2 separate regions of the Homo sapiens genome follow, and region 2 is linked to region 1. Evidence: promoter capture Hi-C in 16 types of primary human blood cells and fetal thymus (Javierre and others, 2016). All regions are on one chromosome and are shown on one strand. Each heading gives the region's core, a stretch centred on a gene start or on the middle of the fragment in contact. The rest is flanking DNA. Distances are from core to core; before and after follow the strand shown.

What was found. Contacts are between HindIII fragments. The CHiCAGO score rates a contact against its expected background, and 5 or more counts as called.
Region 2: a fragment that was not itself captured here is called in contact with the fragment with the promoter of GPR19 in region 1 in 1 of 17 cell types (endothelial precursors); the score reaches 5.0 in endothelial precursors.

What each region holds. Positions count from the first base shown.
Region 1 is chr12:12,694,455-12,697,432 of GRCh38, forward strand. It overlaps GPR19 (G protein-coupled receptor 19), which reads right to left and starts at 1,729. Exons shown (of 4, transcript NM_006143.3): 1 at 1,611-1,729; 2 at 1,005-1,057. RefSeq lists enhancers at 1,477-1,636, 1,817-1,896. The HindIII fragment of the contact is 8,608 bases long and covers 1-2,978 here.
Region 2 is chr12:12,050,046-12,052,888 of GRCh38, forward strand. It overlaps a transcript of BCL2L14 not described here. Among named protein-coding and RNA genes, the nearest start is that of BCL2L14, 19 kb to the right of the region's middle. The HindIII fragment of the contact is 1,396 bases long and covers 888-2,283 here.

The DNA.
Region 1 (2,978 bases), core at 479-2,978:
CTCAGCCTCCCAAAGTGCTGAGATTACAGGCGTGAGCTACCGCGCCTGACCCGGTAGAGTACCTGTCTTAAAGCTCCCTAAATACAGACGGACCTACGATGCACAGAGCATCCACAATTCAACTGATAGGTGGCATGTACTTTACACTAAGTTCTATGCTACCTCATTTTGTCATTACAATAATCCTATGGCACAGGCACTATTATCCTTATTTTATAAATTGAGAAACTGAGATTCAGACAGGACACACAGAGTGACTGGCAGACCCTAAAGTCAAAGCCCAGGTCTGATTCCCAATTGTACACACTTTATATGACATCATATCGAGATGTCATGCCTCTCAGAGCTGGATGATCCCACTCCCTAAAACAAGACACCCAGGCTTCAACCCTGAAATCCTATTCCATTGCCTCCATGGATTTTTCCTGCAGCATTTTCCTATGCACTTCACACATACAGCGCAGCTGCCAGGATATACTTTAGGCTGCCAAAATGAAATGAAGTCACTTTCTTGGTAAGTGATTACCATGCCTGGCTCTTTACTGAAGTACTTCCATTCTATATATTCACACTGGGATCCTTCTCCATCACTGCTAGCTTCAATCCTGTGGCTTTCCATATTTAGTTTTTCTTACAGATGAAGTGATACTCTTTACCTATCAGCCATTCCTTTGTTGGAGTAAAATTACGTATTCCATCAGCATTCTTCTGCCTTGTACTCCAGATAGTATACAAAGAATCAAATTATAGTAGCTAAGTGGCATAGAATTGCTGCCGATATCAAGATGGACTCTAATATCTAGTGAACTGGGAGGCTAGAGGCTAGAAGTATGTACTTCTGTAAGGTGTCAGTGACACATCTGAGTAATGTGGTAGCTAAATGCCACCATTTCATTCCATGAAATCCACATTTCATTCTGGCTAAAGGGTAAAGCTGGTGAGAGGTGGGAGGGGCCAGGAGGCTCCATCGGAAGGAGGCAGACACTTCAGGTGTTGGGTGGTACCTTTAAGATGTTGCGGGGCCAAATCCAATGCCGGTGCAGGTGTCCCATATATCCTGAGAGACAAAAAGAGGTCAGATTGGTCAGATCCCTCGAGACAGTTCCCAAATTCCTGACTTCTGTTACCGCGACTGTTCTTCGCAATTCCACCTCGGCCTGTGTTCAGGACTGTGGCTTTTAGAATCTTCCTCATTCCATTCCATTAGGGGCGTCCCGATTTCCACCTTATATACACCATGTACTAAATGCATGCCATTTCTGCCTGTTTACAAACATGCATAAGTTCACACTCTTTTAAGAAAAATGTCCTCTACTGTCAACTTCTTTCTAGTCTGGCCTCCCAGGTAGGCTACAGAGCTACTGCCTTCATTTATCTCTCAAATCTTCCCATCTTCTCCTTCCCACTGTATTACCTTAGCTCACACTCACATCCTCTTGGTCACCAGCCAAAAAATAAATAAAACTCCTTTGTCCCTTCAGATTTCTCTCTTATTCTACAACCTCATTAATCGGCTCTCCCGCTCCCACTCCTTTACTACTTCAGTCGCTGAAACCTCCCCTCACAGAGTTCACGGCCAATATAAAAACGGAAAGAAGGGATGACCATACGAGCTTGTGGACTTTTGCCTGCAAAATCTCATAGAATGTGGTGTTGTGTACGTGAATCCATCAGATCAACGCGACGGACACTCCCCAAGGGCCAAATCGGACCGCCTCTCACTAGGCGGAAAGTTTTGAAACTTTTGCGCGCTAAAAATGATGAGCCAGACGCATGCGCAAACGTGCACTCCCGGGGTGGCGCTTCTCCTCAGGCAGATCTCGCGTGGTTTGGTGATGGCCGGCTAGTATGAAGGTTTTCCGTGGCGTTGAGATCCCACCCGCCCTTTTTTTTTTTTTTTTTTTTTTTTTTTTTTTTTTTTGCTGCCCCAGTGGATTAGGATTAGTGCTGCAGTCAAATGAAAAAGATCAAGACAAAAAATTAGGCTAATATAACTAGCCGACAGGCTAGCGGCATTTCTCTGGGGCCGAGGAATTCCACGAAGAAGATCTCTGCGAGGCCCAGAAGGCCGCACAACTACTTCTTCAGAAACAAAATTTTTTAAAAAAGTAAAAATAGAGGAAGTCAGCCAGTTTATCACCTTGGAACCAGCGTTTTGTTTGGCTTTTCCGCTTTTCACTCTACGAAAAAGCCCATTGGCGGCTACCCAGGTTACCGTCCTGTTGCCATTGCGCCTGCGCGGCGGTTTGTTTACCAGTCCAGGCGAAGCGCTGTGTCGCGGTTCTCGCCGCCCCGAGCGCCTTGGTTTGCTCCCTTGACGTGTAATTCGTAATGAAAGTCATGTTTTCATTTGGGAACACGGATCGGAGGTTTAAAACTGGACAGTTTAAGTGTCAACTTCAGACCAAAGAAAATAATGGTAGGGAAAACACTGGACACTCAGAAATCGGTGCCGCGTCAGAGCTGTCACGGAAGATGTTTCTAATGAACCTGAGGAAAACAATAGCACCACCCTAACCAGAACTAAAAAGTGGCAAGCAGCCACAGTTAATGAAACTCATAGGTGGCATTTAGTTACTTATTTAGAATGTAGGCCTAGTTATGGTAAAAATGCAAATAAGACCAAACCTAAGGTCCTCTTGCTCGAGCAAACCTCAAGCAAAACCTACATGATTTAAGACTGACTCTTGAAGCGAAGTAAAAAAAAAAAAAAAAAAAAAAAAGCAGCCATGCAAAATTTGAAACTTGGAGACGACTCTAGAAGCATTAACCCAAGAAAGCACAAGCCAACAAACAAATTTTTGAAATGGTTTGAAGAGCTCTTCAAAGTCAGTTTCAGGTGGCTTAGAAGAGGATGTTGCTTATAAAATGAGATCTGATGGAAACTTGTTTTACAGATATGACTGGATTCGTTTGAAAACAAAAAAAAAGGCAGGCAAAGTGACTTTTTAAAAAGTATTTTTATGGAAGGATTTCTA
Region 2 (2,843 bases), core at 336-2,835, 640 kb before region 1:
GATGCTTGGGAGACAATCCGTTTATCAGGCTGATATATGGCAGATAGTCTACTGACCTCCCTGAGCAAGAACCTTAGGAATGAGGCCAGGTGGCAGAAACACTCAGGGCCAAGGGTAGGGAGCAAAACTGTGATGTAAAGAGACCTAGATGGACTTGGGAGGAGGTGGGGTTCAATAGGAGGCCACGACTAATGCCCTGGCATGCAAAGGCTGGACAGGAGTCTTGAAAGAGCCTCAATTAGCTGGGCGTGGTGGCGGGCGCATGTAGTCCCAGCTACTCGGGAGGCTGAGGCAGGAGAATGGCGTGAACCCGAGAGGCGGAGCTTGCAGTGAGCCTAGATTGCGCCACTGCACTCCAACCTGGGCGACAGAGGGAGACACCATCTCAAAAAAAAAAAAAAAAAGAAAAGAAAAGAAAAGAAGAAACAAAGAGCCTCAAAAATATGGAAAACCAGATCCTAAGAGCAAAATGCCAAGGGGGACACTTATTAGTGAGGAGTCTGCAAAAACAGAAAGGTTTTAGCCAGAAGCTTATAGGAGTAGACCTGGAACCCAAATTGAAAAGGAACAGTGCGACCCGTAATTTGAGAAGGAAATAGAATAGGCAGAAGAACTACAGAAACTATAGCTTCGAGTCTAAGAGCCTATTTACAGGGGTGTCCAATCTTTTGGCTTCCCTGGGCCACACTGGAAGAAGAATTGTCTTGGGCCACACATAAAACACACTAACACTAATAGCTGATGAGCTAAAAAAAAAAAAAAAAAAAAGAAAAGAAAAGAAAAGAAAAAAGAATGGCCGTGCATAAATCTCATAATGTTTTAAGAAAGTTTACAAATTTGTGTTGAGCCACATTCAAAGCCATCCTGGGCCTCATGCAGCCCGTGGAAGCTTGCATAAGAGAGAGATTTAGGACCTTTTGGCGGAAGTGCTCGATAAGGATTGAATAGCACCATAAACTGAAGCTAAACTGAAAGGTTTTAGAATTTAACTTAAGACACCTCAAATGCTTTTAGATGAAACTCAGGACTTTTCACTGTAGTAAAGTTCAGCGTGAAATTGACCTTGTAGGGGCACCAGACAGCAGTGAGCAGGGTGTATAAGAGTGAGGGAGGGGTTAATAAATAGAGATGGTGGGAAAAGGAGCTGGCTTTTCGTGAGTTCAGCTTCTTGCAGACTAGACTAGCAAGAGTCAAGAATGAACCTAAGCCAGACTCAGGTCTACTGGGCAGTGCTAGGCCTGTCTCAACCCTGTTTGCACATCAGGTACCCCATGCGTCTGCTGTAGTCTGTAGCTACATGGGAACCTAAAACATCACCGAGGTTTCTAGTGATGTTGAAACTCAGCTAATAAACAGGGAATCCCGAGGGTTCCCCTCTACTCCACTCCTGACAGTGGCCATCCTGCCTCTGCTTGAATACCTTAACTCGCCTCTCATGAGGCACCCATCTCCTCATTAAATGATTGTCACTGGGAAGAATCCGCCCCACACAGCCAGATCAAATTTACCCCCTGGTAACTTTCAGCCCCTGGTCCCCATTCTGCTCTTTAGCACTAGGTAGCTGAATCGAATCTTTCCATGAGAGTCAATTCCATTCCTCCTAAATCTTCTCTCTTCTAAGATAAATAGTCCACATTATACAATCTTAATACCCAATTCAATGAGCACTTCATGATAGTCTAATATATGCAAAGCACCATGCTTGTGCCAAGTGGGACCCTAAAGCGAATATTATCTCCTTGCTCTTTAGGCAAACAGGGTGAAGACAAGAGGCATAGGTGATGGACACTAAAACAAAGACCGTAAGTACTGTAATAGCTACACACAACTTACAATCATATAGGCATGGGGAAAGAGTAGCCCAGCTTACCTTGGAGGATCTGGAAAGGTTCTAAGAAGAAGTGGAATTGAGTTGGAGTTGGAAAGACTTCAACAATCAGATGTGAGAAGGACGTGGGTGGTGAGTGCAAAGAAAATAGGACACGGCTGAGGACCTTGTTTTCTTTTTCTTTTTTGAGGTTTTTTTCTTCTTCCTTTGTTTTTCGTTTTATTTTTATTTTTCATTAACAAGTAGTAATAATACATGTTTATGGAGTACAATTTGATGTTTTGATATAGGTTTACAATGTGGAATGATTAAATCAGGCTAATTAGTAAATCCATCACCTCACAAACTTACCAATTTTTTGCAGTAAAAACATTTAAGATCTACTTTTAGCAATTTTGAAATATACAATGCATTATTACTTATTATAGTTACCATGCTGTGCAATTGATTAGTAAAGCTTATTCCTCTTGTCTAACTGAAACTGTGTAGCCTTTTCCCAACCACCGCTCCACCCCCAGTCCCTGGTAACCACCATTGTACTCTCTACTTCTATGAGATCAACTTTCTCAGATCCTACCTATGAGTGAGATCGTGCAATATTTGTCTTTCTGTGCCTGGCTTATTTCACTTAGCGTAGTGTCCTCCAGATTCATCCATGTTGTCCCAAATCACAGGATTTCACCCCTGTTTAAGGCTGAGTAGTATTCTATTGTGCATATATACCACATTTTCTTTATTCATTCATCTGTTGATGGACACCTAGATTGATTCCATATCTTGGCTATGGTAAATCGTGTTGCAATGAACATGGGAGTTCAGGTGTCTCTTCAACATACTGATTTCAATGCCTTTGGATAAATACCCAGAAGTGGGATTGCTGTATCAGGACCTTGGTTTCTTAGCTTCTGTCTGACCTTGAGCATACCTAAAATAAGAGCCCTGAACGAGATAATTTCTAAAGTTTAGTGATAGAGACCAAAAGGAGTATACGTCTGAGCATTCCAACTTAGGCCAA